Linked DNA regions of Homo sapiens: all the other regions are linked to region 1. The links are contacts of gene promoters, found by promoter capture Hi-C in blood cells and fetal thymus (Javierre and others, 2016). All regions are on one chromosome and are shown on one strand. The core of a region is centred on a gene start or on the middle of the fragment in contact, and the rest is flanking DNA. Distances in the headings are between cores, read along the strand shown.

Region 1 (6,841 bases), core at 1,924-4,423:
AGCAAGCATAGTTACCAACACCACATCTTCCAGACAATATTCACAAAGAATAATTACACCAATGTCAGAACTTTATGGTGGCAGATTCTCTTCAAAAAGCATGTTTAGATAAAAAGCAAATGACAAATTATCAAATCCTTCCTTCTCTCCTTTTTCAGCTCTGTAAGAAAATAGAGATTTGTGGCTTTTTATTTTTTCATGCTAGTATCATATAGTATCACTCTAGCATAGTGGCTCAGCTCATGGGATTTAGAGTGGCCAACTCACAGCCCTTGGGCAAGCTAGTAAATACACTGAAGCCTCAGTTTCCTCATCTACAAAACAGAAATAACAGGACCTAACTCACAAGGGTCCTTCCAAGGATTACATTTAATTAGATGATCCATGGAAAGAGCTGAGATTCATGCCTGGCAGTAAGTATTCAATAAATATTAGCTATTATTGCTATTAAATGTGAGCCAACACATTCTAAAAGTCAACATACGCAGATTACTTCAGCCTCTATAAAAATGTCAGTAAAGATCAATAACCTAGCCAGCTCACAATCATTCACGTGACTTAGGTGAGAACCATGTAAGTTAACTTTCTCACAAGAAAGGGCTAAACTTTGTTTCATTACTTACATTACCTACTCAGCCCAGCCTGACAGCCAAAAGAACACATTCCATATTAAAGATCCCACCTTCCTCTAGCAAGGTCAAAAGGACTTCTTACATCCTCACCTGCACATCCTTTCTTTGCTCCTGTATCCCAAAGAAACATGTCTATACTGTGGCTTTCTAAACTGCAGGCCTCACCTCCTCCCTCTTTTAAAATCGTGATAGGTTGGTTAAACGTACTTAAGAAACACTCCAACCCCTGACAATTCTCTGCGCCCAGTCTTCCACAACCCCCAGCTCAGAAGTCACCTCCTCTGAGAAATTTCCCCACCCTCAGACAAAATTAACTCCCCTATACTTCAAAGCATTTTGGGTACACATATGCCCCAGTAGTTACCTTATAATTAACTAATTATGTCTCCCCCAATAGACTGAATTGAGAGCAAGGGAGTGTTATGGTTACAGGATCAGCTCTAGCACCAAGCACAGTGGTTGGCACATATCTGGTGCTCAAGAAATGCCATACTTTAAACCAGATTCTCTCCTGGCTGAGTACCATCTCCTGCTGGATGCCCCACTTCAAACTCTGAACATAAGGTTGCTCTCAGTAGAGCAGGCTAACATGATGGACTGCTGATTACAACATTAGAAAACCTACTCATCAACTTCTCCCATTGGAGAGGTTCCCGGAACCCAAACTCAATTGAGCAGGATTATGTACCATCAAAATCAGTGGGAATTCCCAGCACACTACAGAAGGTAACTTCTCCTTCAACAGGGTTGTTCGAAAGCCTGCAAGGATGAGCTTTTTATTGGAGGACTCTTCCCTGGGTAACTGAAGTGGAAATACAGTAAGAATAAATGCCTTGATTTGGCTGAAAAGGGTTCAAAAACATAAAGAATTGGGAAAAAAAAAAAAAGCCAGTTCTTGATTCCTGAAAAACAGTGGCTCGTGAAAAAGAATGAACAGGAAGCAGGGGTGGGTACTGGACACTCTTTGCTTCAATAAATAAAATCTTTTTTTCCTCCTTACAACCCAAACGAAAAGGCCAACACACCAGGTCCACAAGAGATGCTCAACAATCTTTCCTTCCAACAAGTACACTAAACTGCGTTTCCAGAAAAACACTGCATTGGGAACCTCGACCACAATGAAAAGTTCCAGTGACTAACATAATTTTTTAAAAATCCAACATTTACATTGGGTGACCCACAGAGAACTTGCAAACTTTCTTTAGGGAGGTACTGCTACCTTTGCAAAGAACGTAACTTGGGAAAAACAACCTGGAAATATAAAGAACTCCACAAAGCGTGGCTTTAGTTTTAGAGCCATAATTCCTATCATAAACAGCCTATCAAAAAAAAAATTAACAGTTGCTTAAGGAAATCTTTCATTCTGGAAGCAGAAAAGGAAACAAACATGAAGCATAAAGGGAATAACCCCCAAAATAAAGTTTAAAAAATAATAATTCAGTCCCCCAGCCTTCCCTCTCTGGTGAAGTATGTGATTTATACGGCTTTGCTCTGCAGAAAGCTCATTCTGGGCAGCTCAAGGAAAGAGCCGAGGGAGGGAGAGAAAGAGACACAGGCACAGAAAGGAGAGGAGAGAGAAAAAGAAAATGGCGCAGAGACTAAGTCCCGACCGTCGACAAGGCGACTTTCCCGGGAGGAATCCCGGCCCGGAAAGACCGCCCGAGGCCCGGTGGCGGACGACACGGGGTCTCCGTTGTCCCCTCTTGGGAGGGCCGGGATCTGGAGGAGCTGGGGTCCCCGGAAAGGGGGTCAAGAGGCGGCCCGATGGGAACAATGGGGCCGGTGAGCGAGGAGCCGGGACTTAGTCTCTGGGACGCCATGTCTGTCCTCTGCCCGGCACCGGCAGGGCGCGGGGGAGGCGGCCGGCGGCTGGGGGGCCCCGGAGTCGGCGCAGGGGGCACACTCACCATTCAATCGGAAATCCGCTTCGATCTGGAAAAAGAAAAGGAGAGAATATCAAACAACAGCCACTTTAACCCCTCCGGCGGCGAGCGCGCGCGGCCGGGGTCTGGCTCACCCTGCGCCCCCGGGGAGGACGGGGACCCGGGGGTGGCCACAGAGGGCAGCCATCCCTGCCTCGAACTGTAACTTCGCGGCCCTCGCTCGCGGCCTAGCGAGCCGATCTACTCCGGCAGGCGGCCCCTCACCGGGGGCTCCGGCCTGTCAAAGCTGCCGGGCCGGGGCTGGGGTCGGGGCCTGCGCCGGGGGTCGCGGGACGGCCAGGCCGGGGTCCGGGGCCGCCAGGGTCAGGCCGGGCCGTACCTGGGAATCGTTGTGGAGGTGGTCCCCACTCATGTCGGCCCGGAGGGACGAGCGCGGCGGCAGGCGAGGCGGCGTGGGGGAGACGCAGACGGCGAACCGGCCTGTGCGGGCGGACGGGGACTCCGGAGGCTCGAGGAGGCGCAGGTAAGCGGCGGTGACTGTGGGCCCGAGACTCCAGAAACGGCTGAGGCTGCTACCACGGCGGCGACGCTGCCTGACTGCCGGGCGGGCGGCGAGAACAGACCCCAGCAGTTGTGTAACAGCCTAAGTTCGCATTTGGGCTCACTGCGCCTGCGCGGCCGCTTTTAAACAACACGTCGGCGACGTCAGCGCTCGCGGAAAGAGGCAGAGGGTTGCGGCCCGCCCCCTCGCTGTTCGCCAGACGGACCTGTCTTTGCATCGCAAGCCCCGCCTCCGGACCGTGCGCGCTCCGCTGTGATTTGCATAAGGAGCCGACTCCTCCCACGGCGTCCCACCCCAAGCAGCCTCCCCTTCCTCTCCAGACGCTTTTTCTCGGAACCCCAGCCCCTCTGCTAGGCAGTGCGCAGGCGCCACCCGGGCACCGCCTCCGGACCAGGGCTGGCCGCGCAGCCACGTGGTGGGCCTTTAAAGGCCGCGGCGGGACCCAGCAATCTTGGGCAGAGCTGGTATCCGGCGTCCGCATCTCCTTGGAGCGGCGAGTACCTTGGCAGCTGGGACCCCAGAGGTCTCCCCAGCGCCTCCTTTCTTGCTAAGCCGACCCTGAGGCCGCCTGGTGGGAGGAGTCCCCTCCCCAGCCTTTGTCCAGGCCCTCCAACTTCTGGATTATTTCACGCCCACTTTTTAAAAATTATTTTAATTTTTCAACCAACCAAGGGTCCGGTTTAACCCCAGTTTTCCGCCGAGTACATGTAGCCCTGGGTCACCAAGGGTCTGATTTCTTTGGTTCATTCTACAAATACTTATTGAGCATCCGCTATGAGCCCAGGAATTGTGCTGAGGGAAGGGGGAATGCAAGAGACCAAAGGGAACTGAACCTGTCTCTATCCGCCCCTGTATCCCTGGCATGCTGGGAGGACGGGGCAAATGGGGAATAGAACTACCGTTTATAGAGCATCTATTCTGTGCCCAGCTCTGAATTCTCACAATAGCTCTGTGAGGTCGCCTGTATTACAAAAGTCAAACTGTCCTAAAGACAAGGGACCAACAGCCAGCTACCTTGCATCTATAGTTGGATACCTCTCAAGCTTCTCTGGGAATGAACTGAACTCCACTCAGCTAGAAAAAGCCCCATCCTGACACCTTCCTTTCCCTCATTTCCCACTAGTCCCGCTGATTGCATCTCTTTGCTTCATCTACTTCTCTCTGCTGCCCATAAGCCTTTGAAGTCTGCGTTCTCCTGCTTGGATTAATACAATGTGCTGGCTGGGGGTGGTGTCTCACACTTGTAATCTTAGCACTTTGGGAGGCCGAGGCTGGCAGATCACTTGAACCCAGGAGTTCAAGACCAGCCTGGGCAACATGGCAGAACCCTGACTCTACAAAAAAATACAAAAACTGGCGGGGTGTGGTGGCATGTGCCTGTAGTCCCGGCTACTCGGGAGGCTGAGGTGGGAGGATCACCTGAGCCCGAGGAGGAGGTCGAGGCTGCACTGCACTCCAGCCTGGGCAACAGAGTGAGACCTGGTTTAAAAAAAACAAAAAACAAACCAACAAAAAACACCGCACTCCAAAACACTACACTTCTAACAGGGATTGCTGCTTCCATTCTTGGCCCTCTCGTAAACTGCATTCCAACAATTGCCAAAGTGATCTTCTCAATATGCTAATCTAACCATTACTCCTTTGTGGATATTGCCACATCTATTACCACTTTCACTATTATTATTTCATATTTTAATTGATCTCCTTTTTATTTACCTTCATCCTAAGTGTTATCTGTGAAATAATATCTATGAAATCATTTGGAAGTAAATATGAAAACTGTTCATCCAGTGGACCATCAGTATCTTTATCACATCTAATGTTTACCATCACATGTTTACCATTAGATGTGTTTACCACATCTTGTGAATGCTTCAAGATCAACCTAAATATCACTTTTTCAAAGTGACTCTCCGGCGCACTACTGACCCTGCTTCCACTGGCTGACCAAGGGTGCCTTATAGGCCAGGCGCGGTGGCTAACGCCTGTAATCACAGCACTTTGGGAGGTCAATGTGGATCAATCACTTGAGGTCAGGAGTTCAACAACAGCCTGGCCAACATGGTGAAACCCTGTCTCTACTAAAAATACAAAAATTAGCAGAGTGTGGTGGTTCACACCTGTAATCCCAGCTACTCGGGAGGCTGAGGCAGGAGAATCGCTTGAACCTGGGAGGCAGAGGTTGCAGTGAGCCGAGACCGCACCACTGTACCCCAGCCTGGGCAACAGAGCGAGTGAGTCTCAAAAAATAAATAAACAAATAAAAATAAAAGGTGCCTTATAGTATCTATCTCCTTTGTAACACTTATGACACTTGTTATTAAGTTACAAATGTAGTAATTGGTTTCCTGTCTATTTCCCCTATAGCAAGCAAGGTCTGTGAGAGGGGGGAATCTTGTCCATCTTGCCTACCACTGAATTCCCAGCACCCAGCAACAGGCCCTCCTACAGAAGAGGTGCTCAAGAAATGGGCAAATCAAAGCAGGTTACCCTGCTTTGGTTAGGAGCACACATTTGGAAGTCAAATCAACTTAGGTTTGAATTCTGCTCTGCTGTTTGTTACCTGTGTGATATCAGGCAAGTTGTTTAACTTCTCTGAGTCCCTGTTTCCTCATCCACTCCATGGTGATCATTGTGGGTATGTAATGACTATCAAAAAATAATGGTTTGAGGGCAGGCACCTAGTAAGTGCTGAGTCTTGGATTCATACTCAGGTCGGCCTGACTCCAAAGCTATACTCTTTCTCTGAAGCAAGCTGCCAGAGCCAGTTTTGCCTTGCTGTTGGTGTCTCTTCTCATACTCTTCCCATCTCAGGATCAATCCCTGGCCAGAAGATGAGGCATCTGCTTGCTGCAGTGAGTCCAAGATAATTTGAGGACGGCCTTCAGGAATAACAATGCATCCACACTACTCCACTCTCCCAACCCCCCGTTTCCCAGGGAGAATCTGCATTTGCTTTTTTTTCTTTTTTTTTTTTTTTTTGAGATGGAGTCTCTGTCACCCAGGCTGGAGTGCAGTGGTGCCATCTGGGCTTACTGCAACCTCCGCCTCCTGGGTTCAAGCAATTATCCTGCCTCAGCCTCCCGGGTAGCTGGGATTACAGCCACGTACCACCACACCCAGCTAATTTTTGCAATTTTAGTAGAGACAAGGTTTCACTATGTTGGTCAGGCTGGTCTCAAACTCCTGACCTCGTGATCTGCCCACCTTTGCCTCCCAAAGTGCTGGGATTACAGGCATGAGCCACTGTACCCAGCCTGCATTTGCTTTCCAGGCCCCTCCAAAGAAGACTAGGTAGGCATGAAAACAGCACAGACTTCACAATGGCAGACCGAGGACATCCCCGTGCACAGACATGGAAATATCCGGGCAGTCTTGTCACAGGCTGAACTTCTCTGCCAGCATGTGTGGCTGGCAGTGCTCAGAGGTTGACTGACTTACTCTGTCTTACAGAGACCACTCCTGACTCCTAACACTTCAAACACATGTCCCCACCATATGGTACTTGAGGAGATTATTGATAGTGCATGGACAAGCATTTTAATTCTAATAGATATGTATTTCGATGTGTATGAGAAAAAATAACCATTGTTTTAAGGATATAACTGGGATGAGGCTTTTTAAAAAAGTGATTGATTTACATAAAAACATATAGGAATAGTGCACAGAGCGGACATATAAGACAAACTCCAGGAAGGCTATAGGCAAATAAATGAGGTTTGGGAAACACTGCTTTAAATCAAGACTGTTCACTCATGGACCAT
Region 2 (6,841 bases), core at 2,126-4,625, 640 kb before region 1:
CCGAACTGAACTCAGTCCGTGGCAGCAGAAACTCTGAGCCACCGAAGGACATTATCCACCATGAGCATGCCACACCCACCCACTCCCACCCCCCTCACACACCAATCCACCAAGAGGTTGAAAAGAATAAAATATGTCCCCTGAGATCTGGATTATGCATGCAAATAATCAACTTGAAATAATTACTGAGGGGTAAGTTCTCAAATCATCCTAAGAAACTATCCAAAGGCATCTATAACCCTAAAACAGGATTTCCTAATGATTATCCATTAACAGGATCCCACAGCAAACACAGGAGTTAATGGAAGGTGGGTAATGCAATTAGAAAGTGAATTCCACACCCATAATGCCATAATTCGGGGCTTAGAACACAGCATCCAGCATCCTTCCCCCTACCTATGACCTGAGCCCCTTCCCTGCTCCCCCAGCCCATAACAGAGCCAGCATAGCCTGGGACTTCCTCCCTTCTCCCCGACCACTGGTGACTCAGCAGCCTGTGCTGATAGCCCTGCTCCTGCCTGCCCTCCCACTCCACAGCCCTGCTGCTAGCTGTCCCCTCCGTGTGGCCTGGGTCCTAACAGTGGGTGCTCCAGGGCCGGTGAGTTCTAACGAAAACAGGGAGTGGGGGACCTGCCTTTGAATCCACTCTTGTCTCTGACTCTTTCTCCCTTTTGAATCTTTATTGCACAGACATTGATTCATCACATACCACTCAACAGTCTCTGTCCCTGTCTCTGTTTTTGTTTCTTTCTCCATCTCTCCCTGACTCCATTCCTGCCTCCCTCCTTGTCCCTTCCTTCCTCTGTCTCTCACCACATCTTCCTTTCCCTCTGCCTATCCCTTCTCCCAGTCCTGGCCTCTTTAAATTAAATTGGTCTATGTCTCTGAAGACAGATGACACAGCAAATTTGGCAGTGCCCACAGAAACTCACGTTTCTCAATATAGTTTGTACTAACACGTTCACTGTTTTCTGCTATTATAAATAACCGTGTAATCAACATTACTTTAGATCTCTATCTACATATCTGATTAATTCCTTCAGGCTGCTGTACTCCCTAGATATGGCATTGTTAAGTCAAAGGGTACAGACATTTTTAAGACTTATTGCAGGTATATTTGGAAAAACACTTTTTACAGCAATGTCATACATGTAACTGGACTTCTTTGAGATCATACAATTTCAGATTTAAAATGGGGTCATGTGTTTTTCCAGGGTCCCTGAAGACATTCACATTCTGAATATCTCTGCAGATCAAGTGGTTTCTTAAGGACCTAATCCCCTTTCTGCAAACTTCAATATTAATGTATCTCTCAATTTGTTCATCAACACATGTGCCAAGCCTAGTAATGACCTTGGACCACACCTTGGCGATTTAGAGCCTTTCCAGAATCATGGGCGACTCCGTCCTTTTTATGGGCTCAATTTTAGTATTTGGTATTTTTAAAATCAAAAATAAAATGGAAGTTTTTAAGTACTATGAGACAGAATGTGATCAAAGATCATTCCACCACCCATTTGTTCTTTACCCAGACAGTACCAAGCAACGTTGAACACTCACCTACACCGCCTTCAGTCTCTGTTGGTTGAGACTTCTCCTTTTTTAAAATATCTAAACAGCTTCAGATGTCCTGTAATTTTTAGAACACTTCACTGCTTCAAAGAAAGGAGGTGTCTGGGCCTCTTTTACTCCTCTCCTAGGGTAGAATTCGTGGGCCATGGTGCCCACCCATATTCTTTTACCTCATTTAAGATAGGTTGAATGGACTGGCCCCTCTTTATTACCCAAAGACAACATGAAAACAAGCATTATGTTTTTCACTTGCTGCAATATATGCTCACAGATCTTGGTGTAACTTGCTCAATAATCACAATTTTTAGCTGTAAGACAAGTGTCAAGGCAGGTGTTTTTTAGCTCCTCAAAGTTCTCCCAGAACATTTACGTCCACTTGGAAGTTCATAATCTAATGTGGGATACAAGCACATCAATCAGATAATCATAATATAGTATAATAACAGCTTTTAAGCAGTTGTACTATAGGTGGGATTTGGGGGGGAGAACTCAGAGAATAAAGGGCAAGAGACCTTGAAAGCTATGCATCTGGCAGCTACTGCTGCATAACAAACACTGCAGCAACCTCAGTGTTGAACAATACATATTTGTAAGTTTCTCATCCAGGTGACTGGAGGTTTGCTATGCATTGACTCTGACTTTGTCTAGGCTTATACAGGCTGCACTCCAGGCCATGTATTTGGCTCAAGTCTGTTCCATGCATTTGGGGCCTCCTTGTACCTGTGGCTACCTGGTCATCATGGCAAAAAATAGGCATGCAAGAGACTAAGCCCAACATGCAAGCACATTTTAAGCCTTTGCTCACATCATGTGTACTAACATCCCATTGGCCAAAGTAAGTCACATGGAGAAGCTCAAAGTCAAGATGAAAGGAAGAACATTCCTCCATGGATATGTAGTGAGAAACAGTGAATATTTGCTGAATAATAATCTAATCTACCATGAACCAGATCTTGAAGAACCAAGGGGTATTTGTTCTTCTCTAGAGAAGTGGAATATTCTGTTCCTTAGGAAGGACCACATCAGGAAAAGCAGACAGATACAAAGATGCAAGGTACATTTAGGAATTGTGGGTGACTCAAAGGGCAGAAGCTTAGGACACTTGTGACAGATGTTGAGGACACGTAGCAAGCAAGCTGAGGCAGGATCTCAGGGTTGGAGGAAACCCAAAAGGTCTAGACAACTTGGGGCACAGTAAGAGTCCTGCCTCCTTGTTGGTTTTTTTTGTTTTTGGTTTTTTATGGTTTTGTTTTGTTTTGTTTTGTTTTGTTTGAGACACAGTTTCACGCTGTCGCTCAGGCTGGAGTACAGCGTGCAATCTTGGCTCACTGCAACCTCTGCCTCCCAGGTTCAGGGGATTCTCCTGCCTCAGCCTCCTGAGTAGCTGGGACTACAGGCATGCGCCACCACACCCGGCTAATTTTTGTATTTTTAGTACAGACAGGGTTTCGCCATTTAGGCCAGGCTGGTCTCCAACTCCGGACCTCATGATCCACCTGCCTCTTCCTCCCAAAGTGCTGGGATTACAGGTGTGAGCCACGACACCCAGCCCTTGTTCGGTTTCCAGGGGACTCCTCCCCTATCTCTTGAAGTGTCTACTACCTGGTGAGGGGGAAGAAACTTTCATCAATCCTCTACGTTCTCTAGGCAAAAACATTACCTTCTCTTCACCATCCAAGTGTAGAACCCTACTAACCCTCCCTTTCCTCATCGCTTCTGCTACCCAGCATAGCATGTAATAAATCCTTATGGTATATAATCCAGAATGTGTAAGCAGCTGGAATTCTTTCCTGAAAATTATTTTTTTCTGATAAGGCATATTTATTGAAAGAATGACACAAAATGGTGAATGTTAAAGATCTACTGCCTGTCTCCAGAAATAGCCACACTTCACACTTCCAGATTATATGTAATATAATTACATAAATGGAATCATATTTTCTGTGGTTTAACCAGCTGTTTGATATCAACTTAAAACATCACCTATCACATTCTTTTTCATGACTGTGTAGTATTTTATTATATGGCTATGCCATCATTTATTCAATCCATCTCCCAATTTTAACCACTAGAAATAATACTCTAAAGGCTATCCTTGTAAATACATCTTTGTTTGCTGATCTAGTTAATTTCCCAAGTGTAAATTGCTAGAAGTACAATTTTTTGTTCAAATGTATACCCATTTTAAGTGTTCATACATATTGTCAAATTGCCTGCCAGATGGTTGTACCAACATGCATTCTCAGTAGTGGTGTCTGAAAGTGGCTTTTACTCACACACTCAACAGCGCTGGGTATGTAACACATTGTTGATATGAACAATTTTATCTCATTTCTTATTATAATAGAGCAATGACTTTTTTATTTCTTTGTAAAAAAATTTGAACTAGAATTCTCTTAGCAAAGCTATCAATAAGTATGAGGGTAGACCATCGATATTTTAGGAGAAAGGAATTATTAAAGATAAAAGCTAAGATGTCAAAATAACCAGACTTGATAAATAAAACTAAGCTTCTTCTTTAAAAAGACGAAAATGAAGAAGAAAAGGAAAAACTACTGTTAAGCATAAGCAAAAATTAAGAAATAAATCACAAGTAACACAATGCCAGGGCTCAGGAGTAGGGTCTTTATCTCCACATATTAAGAATAATTAAGCTATTTGAAAATTTTATGTTAAAATTGATGTTAATATACCTGAACATTTACCTAAAATGAATGGTATCCCATAAAAATATAAGCTCCTAAAATTGATTCTAAGAAACCTATATAGGCTAGATGCAGTAGCTCATGCCTGTAATCCCAGCAATTTGGGAGGCCGAGGTGGCAGGATCTCTTGAAGCCAGGAGTTCAAGACCAGCCTGGGTAACACAAAGAGACCCTGTCTCTACAAAACATGTTTTAAAAAATCAGCCGGGCATAATGGCAAGCACCTGCAGTCCTAGGTGCTTGGGAGGCTGGGCCAGGAAGATCCCTTGAGCCCAGGAGTTTGAGGCTACAGTGAGCTATCATAGTGCCCCTGTACCCCAGCCTGAGTAACAGAGCAAGTACATACCTCTAAAAACTAAAACAAAACAAAAGGAACCTATACTAAAATCCATTGATAAAACTGAAAATGTAAATAATCTATGCCCCTAGGTAATTCTGCCCCAGATGGTTTTATGAGTAGGTTCTAGGAAATCTTATTAAAAATACCATTTGTATGTTGTTTAAACTAGATATTTAAACTAGCATCAAAAAAGATCCAATTTCATTTTATAATGCAAAAATCTAACCAAGCACTTGCTGGTATGAAAGTCTTAAATAAAATATTAGTAAGTCATACCAAGCAGTATATTAAAAGAGTTATGTACCATGACCAAGTAGTGTTTATTTCAGGAAGAATGATTGGTTCAACATTAAGAAATCTTTGTTGAACTAAGCATCCTGTAATACATCAGATAGTGAAAGGAAAAAAACCATATGATCATCTCAATATATGCCCAAATGCATTAATTAGAGTATAACCTCCATTTCAGATGATGATAATAATGACAGTGATGACAAAAATAATGATAAACACCTTACTAAGCAAAGAACAGAGGGCCCAGGGACACTTTTTAAAATCAGAAGCCACAAGCAGCAAACTTAATGGTAAAACATTAAACAAATACTGGAGGCGTTTCTATTAAATGGGATGCTCACTATTATTGCCATTAATCAAAATGTTTCTGGAGTCTCAGAACAGTGCCATTAGGTAAGAAAAAAACAAAGGAAATACATATTAAAAGAAACAGCAAATTATTTGTATTTTCAGGCTACAGTCTTTTCTTCTTAGAAAATCCATGAAACCCAACAGAAAATATTACTGAAATTAATAAGAAAGGTCAATAAATTGGTTCAATACAAGAAATATAAATCTATGACTTTCTTATATTCCAAAAATAGCCACTTAGTAAATTGTACTAAAAAGAACTTCCATTCATAATTGCAACAATAACTGTAAATAACTGTGTGTAACTATGACCAGAAATACAGAAAACTTACATGAAGAAAATTCTAAAATATTCCAAACAAGATAAAAAGTTGGAGAGGTATACCACATTACATGGTATAAATATGTTAGCTTTCCCTGAATCACTTTATGGATTTAATACAGTTGCAGTCAAACTACCCAGGGGATTATTTTTGGAACTTGAAAGACTGATTCTTAAGTTGTCTACAAGAATGCATGCGTGCAAAGCGTCACGAAATTTTTGGGTGGGATCATAGCCACACAGAATAAAGACTACATTTCCCATTCTCCTTTGCAGCTAGATGTGTTCATGTGACTAAGTTCTGACCAATGGGAGCATTTTGTTGCGCATCCAGAAATCTTTAAGAGACAATTTACATATACCCTTTCTCCTTCCTCTTTCTCTAACCTGCTACATGGAACGTGAAGTCTGAGGATGAAACTGTGCAGGCTGGACTTTCAAGATGTTCACATTCTAGTAATGGCAGAGCAGAAAGCTGGAAGGAGCCTGGGTTCCAGAGATTTTCATGAAAGAGAGAAACCACATCAGCTCCAGATTAACACGGAGCTTAACATGAGAGAGAAATGAACTACGTATCTTATTTGAGCCATTGTTATTTTGGGCTTTCTTTGCTCATAGGTGAATCTAATACTATTAAAATAACCCTTCGTATTTCCCCCCATGCTTATATAATTATTTTCAGACCTATACAAACAAACGTACACACACATAAGTTTTATACAGTTTTCTGTCATTGTTTTCTGGGAGAAAAAAAAAACCTTTCTTCATCTTGTTTTTTCTCAGTCAATACATTGTGAAATATTATCCATGTTCATTGGTATAGCTCTAATTCATGGTTTTCATTTTTTGTTTGTTTTGAGATGGAGTCTCACTCTGTCGCCTAGGCTAGAGTGCAATGGCAAGATCTCGGCTCACTGCAACCTCCACCTCCTGGGTTCAAGCAGTTCTCCTCCCTCAGCCTCCCAAGTAGCTGGGATTACAGGCACCTGCCACCACGCCCGGCTAATTTTTGTATTTTTAGTAGAGATGGAGTTTCACCATGTTGGCCAGGATGGTCTCGAACTCCGGACCTCAGGTGATCCACCCGCCTCGGCCTCCCAAATTGCTGGGATTACAGGTGTGAGCCACCACACCCAGCGTAATTCATGTTTTTTGATGGCTTCAAAAAAAGTATCAAAATGTATGCCCTTATTCTCCCATTAGTGGGCATTAGCTTTCTTTCTGGGTTTTTTTTTCCCCTTCACAATTAACAAGCAA
Region 3 (6,841 bases), core at 1,686-4,185, 600 kb before region 1:
GAACAGAATAGAGAACCCAGAATTAAAGCCACACAGCTACAGCCATCTGATCTTTGACAAAGCTGACAAACATAAGCAATGAGGAAAAGACTTCCTATTCAATAAATGGTGCTGGGATAGCTGGCTAGCCATGAGCAGAAGAATGAAACTGGACCCATACTTTTTAACCATATACAAAAATTAACTCAAGATAGATTAAATATTTAAATGTAAAACCTCAAACTATAAGTAAATCCTAGAAGAATACCTAGGACATACCATTCTGGACATTGGCCTTGGAAAATAATTTATGATTAGGTCCTCAAAAGCAATCACAACAAAAACAAAAATTGACAAGTGGGACCTAATTAAACTAAACAGCTTTCACACAGCAAAACAAACTTTCAACAAAGTAAACAGACAACCTACAGAATGGGAGAAAATATTTGCAAACTATGCATCTAAAACAGGTCTAATATCCAGAATCTGTAAGGAACTTAGACAAATCAAGAAAGCAAAAACAAACAACCCCATTAAAAAGTAGGCAAAGGGCCAGGCACAGTGGCTCAGGCCTATAATCCCAGCACTTTGGGAGACCAAGGCAGGCAGATCACTTAAGCCCAGAAGTTTGAGACCAGCCTAGGCAACATTGTGAAACCCCATCTCTACAAAAAACTACAATGTGGTGGCATATGCCTGTAGTCCTACCTACTCGGGAGGCTAATGTAAGATTGCTTGAGCCCAGGAGGTTGAGGCTGCAGTGAGCCATGATCGCACCACTGCACTCCAGCCTAGGCAAAAGAATGAAATCCTGCCTCCAAAAAATAAAGAAAGTAGGCAAAGAACATGAACAAAGATTTCTCAAAAGAAGAAATATGAGTGGCCAACAAACATATATTAAAAAAAAACCTCGACATCACTAATCATCAAGACACAAATCAAAACCACAATGAAATACCATCTTACACCACTTAGAATGGCTATTATTAGAAAGTCAGAAAATAATAGATGCTGGCGAGGCTTCAGAGAAAAGGGAATACCTATACACTGTTGGTGGGAATGTAAATTAGTCTAGCCACTGTGGAAAGCAGTTTAGAGATTTCTCAAATAACTCAAAACTACCATTCAATCCAGCAATTCTACTACTGGGTGTATACCCCCCAAAAAATAAGTCATCCTACCAAAAAGACATGTGCACTCATACATTCGTCACTGCACTATTCACAAGAGCAAAGACATAGAATAACCTAGATGGCCATCCATGGTGGATTGGATAATGAAATGTGGTACATATACACCATAGAATACTATCTAGCCATAACAAAGAATAAAATCATGTCCTTTGCAGCAACATGGATGTAATTGGAGGTCATTATCCTAAGCTAACTAATGTAGGAACAGAAAACCAAATACCAAATGTTCTCACTTATAAGTGGGAGCTAAGCATTGGGTACAAATGGACATAAAGATGGGAACAATAGACACTGGGGACTACTAGTGGTGGGAGGGAGGAAGGAGGGAAGGACTGAAAAAACTCCTATTGTGTGCTATACTTACCACCTGGGTGACGGGATCATTCACACCCCAAACCTCAGCATCACACAATATTCACATGTAACAAACCTGCACATGTACCCACTGAATCTAAAATAAAAATTGAAATTATTTTTAAAAATTTTAAAAGCAGTGCTTAGTTCATATTAATTATGCAATAAAATTAGCTATTATGAACTGTCAATGTAACAGTGCATGTTTTAGTAACATGGGGGCATCATTCTCTTCAACTTTATTCCCTTCTGGCATATATTCCAAAAAGAAGCAAAAGAAGTGGTAGGAGCTGGACTTCCTGGCATCCAGAGATTTAACTACAATCATGAAAGCATAAGAATCATTCACAATAAATGGAATTGGATGGAGAAAAACAACTTACTGCCATCAGTTTCGTTCAAATTGCTGATGGTTGATCTGGAGTTTTCTGTTACGAACAGGCTTTGATACAAGTAGGCAATGCAAGTGATACGGTTTGGCTCTGTGTCCTCAACCAAATCTCATGTTGAATTGTAATTCCCAATGTTAGGGGAAGGACCTGGTGGGAGGTGATTGACTCATGGGGGCAGATTTCCTCCTTTTTGTTCTCATGATAGTGAATGAGTTCCCATGAGATCTGGTTGTTTAAAAGTGTGTAGCACTTCCCCTTTCTCTTTCTCTCTCTTTCTCTCTCTCTCTCCTGCCGCCACGTGAATATGTGCTTGTTTCTCCTTTGCCCGTCCACCATGATTGTAAGTTTCCTGAGGCCTCCCCAATCATGCTTCCTGTCCAGCCTGCAGTAATGTGAGTCAATTAAACCTCTTTTCTTGCTAAATTACCCAGTCTCAGGTAGTTCTTTATAGCAGTGTGAGAACAGACTAATACAGCATGTTTGCTGAATGGGACTGAAATGAGTCATAGAATAACCTAAAATATCTGGATGTAGATCATATGTTAAGAAAACACTTAAAATGTGGGGCAAATTTATACAAAGCACATTTTAAATATACAGTAACTTAATGATGGCTGTCAGTTGTATCACCCAAGGAAATACTGTTATCTATTGCTGCATTACAAATTATCTCCAAAGCTTGGTGGCTTAAAAACAACAATAAACATTTATTATCTCACATAGTTTTCATAGGTCAGAAATTTGAGAGTGACTTAGGTTTTCATGAGGTTGCAGTCAAAATGTTGGCTGGGGATGGATGCAGTCTCATCTGAAGGCTTGACTAGGCATGGAGGATCTACTTCCAAGATGGCCCATTCACATGGTTCCTGACAAGAGGCCTTGAGTTCTTGCCACAAAGACTTTTTCCATAAGGCTGACTGAATGTCCTCATGTCATGACAATGGACTCTTCCCATTGCAAATTACCCAAAACAGCAAGACAGATGCTGCAATGCCATTTATGACTAGCATTGGAAGTTACACTCTGTCACTTCTGCAATATCCTACTGGTTACATACATAAATCAGGTCTATTCAGTACAGGAGAGGGCAGTATAAGGGTTTGAATCACAGCAAGTGAGTATCACTGGGGGCCAACTGGAAGGACAGTTACCATGCTTCACCTCAGCAAAAACATGGAAACTAATTAATTTTTTAAAACTATAGTTTTTTGTTTCTAGTATGTAAAACTGTGTTGCTTATTTTTATTACCAGTTTTCAGACGGTAGCCTCACCAAATTGGTCAGTAATGTTGATGGTAGAATTGCACACATAAAGAAAAGGATTCTACAGCAACTTGAGGCTTAGTAAAAAGCTTAAGAACTTTTTTGTTGCTGTGGTTTTTTTTGTTTTTTTTTTTTTTTGTTTGTTTGTTTGTTTGTTTTTGGAGACAGAGCGTTGCTCTATTGCCCAGGTTGGAGTGCAATGGTGCTATCTCAGCTCACTGCAACCTCCGCCTCCCAGGTTTAGGTGATTCTCCTGCCTCAGCCTCCCAAGCAGCTGGGGTTACAGGCGCACACCACCATGCCCAGCTAATTTTTGTATTTTTAGTAGAGACAGGGTTTCACCATGTTGGCCAGGCTGGTCTCGAACTCCTGACCTCAAGTGATCCACCCGCCTTGGCCTCCCAAAGTGCTGGGATTACAGGCATGAGCCACAGCGCCCGGCCTTAAGCAAGTTTTTATGGCTGAAACTGTCTAATGGTCATTGCAGGAAAGTACACTGCTGAGCAAGAATGAAGGATTTACGAAGCTGTTTCAGGGTAGCGTGACCAGCGTTTTTGAAAAATCCTGCCCAAGAACATTTGAGGTGTGATTTTCCATAAATCATAGTAACTGAAAGGGACCACAGTCATTTTTATATATAACCTTGGATTTAAAAAATCAAAATAGCGGTAGTGCTATACATGGGTGAGAGTGAGAGCTCTGTGGCACTGTAAGAGTTAAATCAGTGAGATTAATACATGAGGGGTAGAGGCCATATATCAGTAGAAGGCACTCCAAAAGACAGAAGGTTCCCCAAGCCAAACACAAGAACAGAGATTGACTTCAGTTAAATCAATGGAATTAATATGTTTCAAAACCTGCAGGTCGACAAAGGGGGAAAGTCTATACAGAACACGGGGAAATGGGAGGCAGAGGAAAGGCTGCGATAATTATATATTAATAACCAATTTGTTGAGCAGTTGCCATGTGCAAAGCACTTTGCATGAATCATTTAATCCACACAACAACCCTATTATTGGAATCATGAAACTGTAAGTTAAGTGACTTTCTTTTTTTTTCTTTTTTTTGAGATGGAGTCTCACTCTGTCACCCAGGTTGGCATGCAGTGGCACAATCTTGGCTCACTGCAACCTCCATCTCGCAGGTTCAAGCAATTCTCCTGCCTCAGCCTCCTGAGTAGCTGGGATTACAGTGGTGTGTGCCACCAAGCCCAGCTAATTTTTCCATTTTTAGTAGAGACAGGGTTTCACCATGTTGGCCAGGCTGGTCTCAAACTCCTGACCTCGGGTGTTCCACCCACCTCAGCCTCCTAAAGTGCTGTGATTACAGGCATGAGCCACCATGCCTGGCCTGTTAAGTGACTTTCTTAAGGACACTAGTGGTAGAGCTGAGATTTGAACCACATCTGTAGGGCTTCAAAGCCTGTGGGCTTAACTAGTCTTATCCAGCTTTGTGCTGGAGAATGGAGCTTCTGGCAGGAGGATGCCTTGTGGCAGATTCACCCCTACAGTAGAGATACAGGGATTGGACCAGTGTAGTTCCAGAATACTGGCTATTAGCATCATCCCCTCAGTTCCAGGTTCCAGAAATCACCTTCTGATCATGTCTCCTCTTCCCACAGAGAGAGAACAAGGTCAGGGTCTGACAAGACAGGCTGGGCTGCTTGGCAGGTACAATTCTCAAGGGAACTAAAAAGGATATTTTTAAGATGTTTAATCATGAAATATTTCAAACATACAGAAAATAATATAAGAGATGGGCCGGGAGCAGTGACTCATGCCTGTAATCCCAGTGTGTGGGGAGGCCAAGGCAGAAGGATTGCTTGAGTCTAGGAGTTTGAGACCGGCCTGGGCAACACAGCAAGATCCTGTCTCTGAAGAAAAAAAAAAAGAGAGAGAGAGAGATGACTGAAAAGGTACCTTTACTGACAGTGCGTTGTGCTTGCTTCACAGTTTTCAAAAACTCTGAGAGATTAAAACACAGAGACTTTATCTAAGCACAAATAGGCCCAAGACCAGTGTGTCTATAAACTGGCTCAGACATGTTTGCAAGGGCAGCATTATTGGAAATAAGTATATGGCTTCTTAAGATATTACTTTGAAAGACAGAAATCAGAGTGACTACATTCTCACACACTTCAGAACTCAGCTCAAGGGCAGCTTTCCTGACCTCCTTGACAAAGGCAGATCCTTCTAGCATAATCTCTCACAGCATCTTATACCCCTCCTTTATAGCACACACTTACCACTGCTGTGATGTTACGTTTGTTCGCATGACTACTGGACTAATGCCTTTCTCTTCTATAGACTGCAAGCTCCATGAGGGCTGAGTTTGTGTCAAATTTTATTCACTACTGTATCCTTGGCATCTAGCACAATACTTGTCAGTAATAGGCACTCAATAAATGTCTTTTCAGTGAACGAATTCAGTTTTAAACACCAGTCTCCTTAGGCATCTACCCAAGAGAAATGACAACATATGTCCACACAAGGACTTCTACTTGAAGGTTTATAGCAGCATTATTCATAATAGTCCCAATGTGGAAACAATCCGAATGTCCATCATTTAGTAAGTGATAAATAAAAGGTGGCATATGCAGACAATGGAGTGGCATATGCAGACAATGGAATGCCATTCAAGCAATTTTAAAAAGTACAAACTGACAAAACACTCTACAACACAATGAACCACACAATTATTACATTAAATAAGCCAGACACAGAAGACTACATATTGTACTATTCTGTTTATACGAAATTTCTCAAAAAGGCAGAACTCCAAAGAAGAAAGCAGATCAATGGTTTCCCAGGCCTGGGGGTGGGAGTGGAGATTGACAGCAAGAGGGAACAAGGAACTTCTGAGGGTGACAGAAATATTCTAAAACTGGATTGTGGTGATGGTTGCACAACTGTATAAATTTACTAAACATCGTCAAACTGTATACTTGCAGTAAGCAAATTGTATGGTATGTGAATTATACCACAATAAAGCTGCTAAAAATGTTTAAAAAATCAATCTCCTTACTTAGTCATTTTATCCCAATTTAGGTTCTGTGGAACATTATTTCTGTGGGGCATTATGCCAGAAACTGCTAGTTGAGTCTCTCAACTCTTTAGTGACAGACCCAATTTTTAACTTGGCACATAGAAAAGCAAAATAAAAGACCAGATTTCCTAGCCTCCTTTGCAGCTTGGCATGGTCATGTGACCAAGTTCTGGACAATGAGACAAAAGTAAAATGTGTAGTATTTCCAGGAAGGTTGTTTAAGGGACTCAACTCCACTTTTTCCACTTTGCCTTTCCTTTTTCCTTCCAAGGACATGTAGACTGGTGCTCCAGCAGCCATCTTGGACCATGAAGTGACCTTGGGAATGAAAGCTAAGGATAATGGAGCAAAAACATTGAAGCCTGGATTCCTGAAGGTACCGGACAGCTGCCATGCCACCCCTGGACGGCCTGCTTCCCAAATTTCTTTTATTTAAGACAGAAATAAACTTTAATCTTATTATATCATTTTCTCATATTTATGCAGCCAAATTGAGTCCTAAGTGATACCAGTTTTTTTGTTGTTTTTTGTTTTTTGTTTTGTTTGTTTGTTTTTTTGAGATGGAGTCTCACTCTGTCGCCCAGACTGGAGTGCAGTGGTGCAATCTCGGCTCAC
Region 4 (6,841 bases), core at 3,173-5,672, 570 kb after region 1:
ACAAAAAAAAAAAAAACCCAAAAAAAACAGGGAACCATGGGGTTGAACACTCATATTGGGCAATGCATATAAGGTTCATAAAATTAACTGGAAGCTGTCTCTTGATGCAGTTCCCTACTCATTGAACTCATGTGACTTGAATAAATCACTAAGACTCTTGATGTTCTGTTTTGTTCTTTGTGCAAAAAGAGAACACTCTATTGTCTTTGGTTCACAGTGGTCAACTCTAGAGAGTCTTCCATCTCCTGAGTACAGGGGAGAGGCATAATGGGCAGTCCACAGCAGCACTGAATCCAGGAGTCCCTGACTCATGGGAAGGGTTGAGGAATTTCTCAGGACCTGGGGTTAAATGGCAGCAGCAGTCTGTCCCATGGCCTCATTTTGGACGCAATGCCAAGCTTTCATCCACAAACTCACAAGTTCATGCTTTTATTTAGAGTGTGGGCATAGCACGGATTCAGGGTCAGAAAGGTCGAGTTGGATCTTTCTTGCTCTTTATTTACCTGCTAAATGACCTTATAAAGGTCCTCATGTTGTCAAGTCTCAGTGTATTCTTCTGTTACATGGGTCTAATCTTCCTTTCTTCTTTAGACAGCTGTTGTGACAGTAAAGTGAGACCCTTGTAGCAAAAGCACTTTTCGGACTCCATGATGTTAGGAAACTGCAAAACACCTTCTTCTGAGTCCAGAGACTGGAAAATGAACTCTTGTGTGGTGAGAATGAAAAGATCCCTTTCTTTTATTTATTTAGCACACATGAAACATGTATATGTATTCATTATACGCCAGGGACTCTTCTAAGTACTTGACAAATATTCACATATTTACATTCTCCTAATCACACGATGATAAATATACAACTGTTGTCCCTGTTTTCCAGATGAGAAAACTGTGGCACAGAAAAGTTAAGTAACTTGCCTAAAGCCACATAGCTAGTAAGTAGCAGAGCCAGGATTCAAACCTAGGCGCTATGGCTATAGAGCCCATGCTCTTCACCATTACATCATGTTAACTTCTTTGCTTGGGATGTTTGGTAGAGCAAAGATAACTTGAGAAGTACAACAGACTGATAGTGAATCTTAGTCCTGCCATTTAGCTGTGTGGCCTTGGGAAGGTTAATTAAATTCTCTGAGCCCTTACTCCCTTATCTATCAAACGAGAATACAAATGTCCATATCAGACAAGTTTTGCAAAGGTTAAATTGAGGCACATTGTCTGGCACAGGCACAATGAGGTGCACAGGTAATGTGAGTTGGATTTGTAGGCAGGGCCTTACCTGAACTCGGCCTTAGCCATTTACTTGATTATGGTTGATTCGGACTTTTCCATGCTCTGCCCACCAGCCTGCTGGGTAACCACATACTTCAGAGTGTGAAGGACCCTGCCCATACCAACTCTAACACTCTCAGGGTGTCTGCCTTGCAGATTGGGGTAGGGAAGCTCTTGTTCACATGCCTGGGCTTGTCTAACAATTACAATTTTTCAGGCCCAGGGTGTCAGCTCCCAGGCTCCTGTTTCCTTTGGGCTCCAAAGAGCAAACAGGGCCCTGCACTTCTCTGTCCACCTCCCCTTCCAAAAACTTACTGGTTAATTTTAGGGTTGGGGAGAGGCTCTGACGAGGGCCTGCCCACGTGGGGTTAAGGTTACCAGTGGCCTCTGCCTCTGGTCAGGCTCGCTGGGAACAGCCGCAGTCACTTCCCGAAGCTCAGTGGGGGCAGGAGCTCGGCCAGGGCAGTGGGCAGTGGTTGGGCACAACATTTCCAAGATGTTGGGAGCCCTGCCTCAGCAGACCAGACCCACAGCCCACATTTTTGCAAAAGAGACACTGTCTTTTATCAGGCATAGCCTGATGCAGTTATATTTTTCATATCATTTTAACTCTAGAAATGGCCCAGCATTTACTACTGCAAAAACTTAATCATGTCTGCCTTACCTGAGGCCCCTTTAAAAGATAAATGCTGACAGATTATCTCAATAATAAGGAAGAAGTCTAGTCACAGTTCTTTACTCTCCATTAAAGGTCTCGCAAACCACGTATTGATTTTTTTAAAGAAAAGAAATTGGAAGAAGCATGTACCAATTAAGAATAAAACTAACAATTTATTACCCTTAGATCTTTAAGGCAAATAGGGAGTAGAAAAACACTTGCTTTTTTTCCTTCCCTCTATTGAGACATAATAATTAGGTAACTATGTAAATAACCTTGTATTAAAACCTGAGACAGCCTGCGGTTACTCAGGCTTCTGTACTGGATCATAAAGATCAGTTACTGCTCCTGGGTTCTCTGAGTTTTGCAAAGCTTTTCTCCCTTTTCTGAAGGGCTCTTAGAAAAATTGTTTCCTTCCCTTTTCTTTTGCTTTGAGCAGGCTGATCATAAGCTCATCTTCTTACTTGTTTGTAAGTTTACTGAATGAGCTCTTGGAGTTTCTTGTTTGTTTCTGTATTCCACAAGCTTTGATTGAGCACAAACTATGTGTTTGTGTTGCTCTTTATATTAGATGATGAACACTGTTACAGAGAAACATTGAGCAGGCAAAGAGGACATTGAGAATTTCCAGGACGGTAACACTAAGATGACGACAAATTTTTCATTGAAGTAGAAACTAAAAACAAGGAAAATATTTTAGAACTGATCTGTCATGTACATGTCTGGCCAGGCCACCCCATCTTTTTTGTGTGTGCAATGATTCTCTGCCGGATAAATATTTGTTAAATATGTAAATAAATGTCTCCCTCCATCTGAAAAGTAAGCACCACCAGGGTAGGCATTTTATGTTTTTTACTGATGTATCCCACACGCTGAGAACTATACCTGACACATATCAGGCCCTCCATTAATATATGTTGAATAAACAAAGAGTTGTCCTCAGTTCATGGATTTGTCTGGCATTCAAAAAGTTTTTTCTAATACCTACTTTAAGTCAGGAATTGGCCTAGGTGCTAGGAACACAAACACGATTGGCCTGGGGCTGCCTTTTTTGATCTTTCAGACAAGGGGAGGAGAGTGAGTTGATCAAGCTAACATAATACTATGTTGTTAAGTGTTAAGCTAGGAGGATGTTGAGATACTCTCTTGCAGAATATGGTAGGATACTTCAGCAAAACCTGTGGAGTGAAAGAATCGTGCTTAGGTAAAAAAAGGATTGAGATGGAGTGAGCAATTGAGTTCCAGGAACTAGAAGAGGAGGTCTAATGATTGAAAGTGACAGAAAACAAGGAGCCAGAGAAATGGAGGCTGCTGCTAGGCCTCGGGTGAGAAGCAGGGAGTGGTGAGATGAGGCTGGAAGAACAAGCAGAGGCCGAATTGTGCAGAGCCTCACATGGGGTTCAGATTTAATTTAAAGACAGCATGAAGCCATTGATGGGTTGCCAGGGGACCAGGGAGGTCAAATTTCTGTTTTGGAAAAATCCCTCTGGTTTCTAGGTATAGGATGGATTTAAAGGAGAGAGCCCAGGCCAAGAGGCAGCTAAGAGCTTCTCCTACAACCCAGGGGAGATGTGGTGGAGACCTGGATGAGAGTGGACAGGCTGTGGGCTGGAAGAACCAGAGAGATTTATGAGAGAAAGACTAACGGGTTGGGGGTTAGAGAGAGGTCAGAGTAGTGGGCGACTCTGAGGTTTCTGGTTTGGTCAACTGGGAAGATAGTTTGAAATAGTTCAGGTGCAGTGTGGGAGAGAAAATTGACATGGAGTCCATATGTATGTCTTGGGAGACCGAGAGGTTTATGGCTCCACTGAAATAATTCTTCAGTTTACTCTGAAGACACATGAGTGAGAAGGAGGAAAAAATGCAATTTAAAAAGTTGTGTTGACATGAATGCACATCCACACCAGATATCTGGAGACAAAGGGCATGGATGGATTGATGTCCTGCATTGTGCAAACTGGTGTCTACTTTGTTCAAATTCAAGAATTTTATCCAAATTTCTATATTACCCTGGAAGAATAATTTAAAACACAGTTGGACCAGGTGCAGTGGCACACGTCTGTAATTCCAGCACTTTGGGATTGCGAGGTGGAAGAATTGCTTGAGCCCAGCAGTTCAAGAGCAGCCTGGGCAACCCCAGGCTTTTGATAGTGAGACCCCATCTCTCTCTCAAAAAACATAAAACTCTCTATATCCATAAGTTTCACATCTGTGGATTCAACCAACTGTGGATCAAAAATATTGAAAACAAATTTAAAAAAGGATGGTTGCATCTGTACTAAACATGTGTAGACATTTTTCCTTCTTATTATTCTCCAAACAATACAGTATAACAACTATTTAGATAGCATTTACCTTGTATTAGGTATAAGTAATCTAGAGAGGATTTAAAGTATATGGGAAGATGTGCATAGGTTCTATGCAAATACTATACCATTTTATATTAGAGACTTGAGCATCTGCAGATTTTGGTTTCCACAGGGTGTTCTGGAACCAATCCCCTGAGGATACTGAGGGACAACTGTATTGTCTTGGATGGTCTCTGATGCTGTAGTATCAGTCCTCTTTCCGTGGCTGAGAGTGGGGTGGGTGAGAAAGGAATTGGGCTTACTGTATTTTTCAGCACACTGAACCTTTCCTTGCTTTTTGAATCATTTCCTTTTACTCTAATAATTTTGGAAGTATAATATTATGAAGTACAATATCAATATTGCACAAGGAATAACCCCACACTTAGAATTCATTCATTCATCCATCCATCTATCTGACCACTCACCAGTAATCTTTCCTTCCTTCCTTCCTTCCTTCCTTCCTTCCTTCCTTCCTTCCTTCCTTCCTTCCTTCCTTCCTTCCTTCTCTCCTTCCTTCCTTCCTTCATCCTTTCTTCCTTCCTTCCTTCCTTCCTTCCTTCCTTCCTTCCTTCCTTCCTTCCTTCCTTCCTTCCTTCCTTCCTTCCTTCTTCCCTCCCTATCTCTCTCCCTCCCTTTTTTTTTGACAGTCTTGCTCTGTCACCCAGGCTGGAGTGCAGTGGCATGATCTTGGCTCATTGCAACCTCTGCCTCCTGGGTTCAAAGGATTTTCATGCCTCAGCCTCCCAAGTAGCTAGGATTACAGGCACCCACCACCACACCCAGCTAATTTTTGAATTTCAGAGAGATGAGGTTTCACCATGTTGGCCAGGTTGGTCTTGAACTCCTGGCCTCAAGTGATCCATCTACCTTGGCCTTCCAAAGCGCTGAGATTACAGGCATGAGCCACTGCTCCTTGCCCGAGTTTTTGATCTGTAGCTTTGAAGACTTGGCTCCAGAACTTCCCTTTGCATCCCTGCAATGTCTGGTCCATGCCTGTTTATTCCTTCCTTCTACTCCTCATCCTATGTCCCTGTTGCTCTGAACCCAGAAAACTTGGAGGCCCAACATTCCCAAAGTGCAGAGAGGGCTGCCACAGCTCCCTTGACCCACAAGATCATCGAGCTGATGCAGCAGGAGTTTATTTCACTTGACTTCAATTTAACTGTCCTGAGCCCCTTCTTTATATTGCCAAGAGATTTCCTAACAGATATGTAACCCGGCGATTCAGGCAATTATTCACGTATTCCCCCACATCATTAGTTTTATGGAACACTGCCAGGGGGCATATTTTTCTTCCCTAGGACTCCTGAGAATAAAGGAAATAGAACTCTTACCATGAAGTCATATTAAGGAGTTTATTTCTCAGAAAATACCCCATAGCACTTTTATAAAATCTTGTGCAGATAGACTGCATTTAGGAAAAGTATTATTTTTACCTCACCTGCTGCCATGAGAATTGCTGTCCAGGCCTCCTGCCTTCCAGGACATGGCTTTTTAAAAAATTCTGGGGTATCTACTGACCACAAAGGGGTGCCCATTGTTAGTGTAAGGAAGACATGGTTTAGGCTGGATCTTGTTGGGCTTGGCTAGGGTGATATAATTTAATCATCCAAACCAGGATGTACTTTTGGACAGAAGGGTGCTATTATTAATTATATTGGCATAACAGGTATAAATTAGGGCCATCCAGGCCCATTGGGACATATGATTACCCTAGACTTTGTGCTCTACTCCTCCCACTTATTGAAACTTTTCTCCATCGGCTTGATCGATAAAGTAAAAACCCAAAGCATTCAGCCAAACTGGGCAAAATATTAGCATTATAACCTAGAGTGATAGTTTTCTTTACTGACCTGGAGAACCAGGGATGATGGGGTGTATCAGCTAGCTCTTGTTACAATAATGCTGCACAAGGAATCACACCAAAACCCAGTGTCCTGAAGCAGCGTTTATTCTCACTTATCTACCTGCAGGTCAGTTGACATAGGCTGGACTTGAATCCATGCTACAGGTTGGGTCCAATTCTGCCTCACACATCTCTCCTTCTCCACAGATCAGTGGGCCAGTTTATGCGGGCTCTTCCCATGGAAATGGCAGAAGCAGAGCAGAAGCTTGTGAGTGGAGACATGTGATGTCTTCTAATACCCAGGCTTGAATCCAGCACACAGTTCACATAGTTACTTCTACCCACATTACTTTGGCCAAAGCAAATCCTATGAACAAACTCATGTCTCCACTCATAAGCTTCTGCTCTCCTACCATTTCCATGGGAAGAGCCTGCATGGAACTGGCCCACTGATCTGTGGAGACGGAGAGATGTGTGAGGCAGAGGTGGACCCAACCTGTAGCATGGATTAAAGCCCAGACTATGTCAACTGACCTGCAGGTAAATATACCCCTCCTTTGGTGGGGAGTATGCCAAAGGCACAGGCAGAAGATAAAGGTACAGGAAGACATAAAGAATAGGAACAATAATACAATCTATTACAGGGAACATTCGGCAAAAGGGGGTTTGCTTTTTCTCTCCCCAGGCCTCTAGTACTAGGATGGCTGAGTTTCTTCAA

What was found. Contacts are between HindIII fragments. The CHiCAGO score rates a contact against its expected background, and 5 or more counts as called.
Region 2: a contact is called between a fragment that was not itself captured here and the fragment with the promoter of TOP1 in region 1, in 1 of 17 cell types (erythroblasts). The highest score is 5.7, in erythroblasts.
Region 3: a contact is called between a fragment that was not itself captured here and the fragment with the promoter of TOP1 in region 1, in 1 of 17 cell types (non-activated CD4 T cells). The highest score is 5.5, in non-activated CD4 T cells.
Region 4: a fragment that was not itself captured here is called in contact with the fragment with the promoter of TOP1 in region 1 in 1 of 17 cell types (neutrophils); the score reaches 6.2 in neutrophils.

What each region holds. Positions count from the first base shown.
Region 1 is chr20:41,025,154-41,031,994 of GRCh38, reverse strand. TOP1 (DNA topoisomerase I) reads right to left here and starts at 3,173. Exons shown (of 21, transcript NM_003286.4): 1 at 2,895-3,173; 2 at 2,540-2,564. The coding sequence starts at 2,927. LOC100128988 (a long non-coding RNA gene) reads right to left here. Exons shown (of 3, transcript NR_145525.1): 3 at 6,599-6,841. RefSeq lists silencers at 2,833-2,902, 3,123-3,474. The HindIII fragment of the contact is 6,355 bases long and covers 1-4,122 here.
Region 2 is chr20:41,663,833-41,670,673 of GRCh38, reverse strand. No RefSeq gene overlaps it. Among named protein-coding and RNA genes, the nearest start is that of CHD6, 49 kb to the right of the region's middle. RefSeq lists a cis regulatory region at 482-492 and an enhancer at 415-559. The HindIII fragment of the contact is 1,418 bases long and covers 2,667-4,084 here.
Region 3 is chr20:41,623,361-41,630,201 of GRCh38, reverse strand. No RefSeq gene overlaps it. Among named protein-coding and RNA genes, the nearest start is that of CHD6, 8.4 kb to the right of the region's middle. The HindIII fragment of the contact is 674 bases long and covers 2,599-3,272 here.
Region 4 is chr20:40,458,192-40,465,032 of GRCh38, reverse strand. LOC105372618 (a long non-coding RNA gene) reads left to right here. Exons shown (of 3, transcript XR_936718.3): 2 at 592-713; 3 at 6,809-6,841. Among named protein-coding and RNA genes, the nearest start is that of MAFB, 230 kb to the left of the region's middle. The HindIII fragment of the contact is 3,937 bases long and covers 2,454-6,390 here.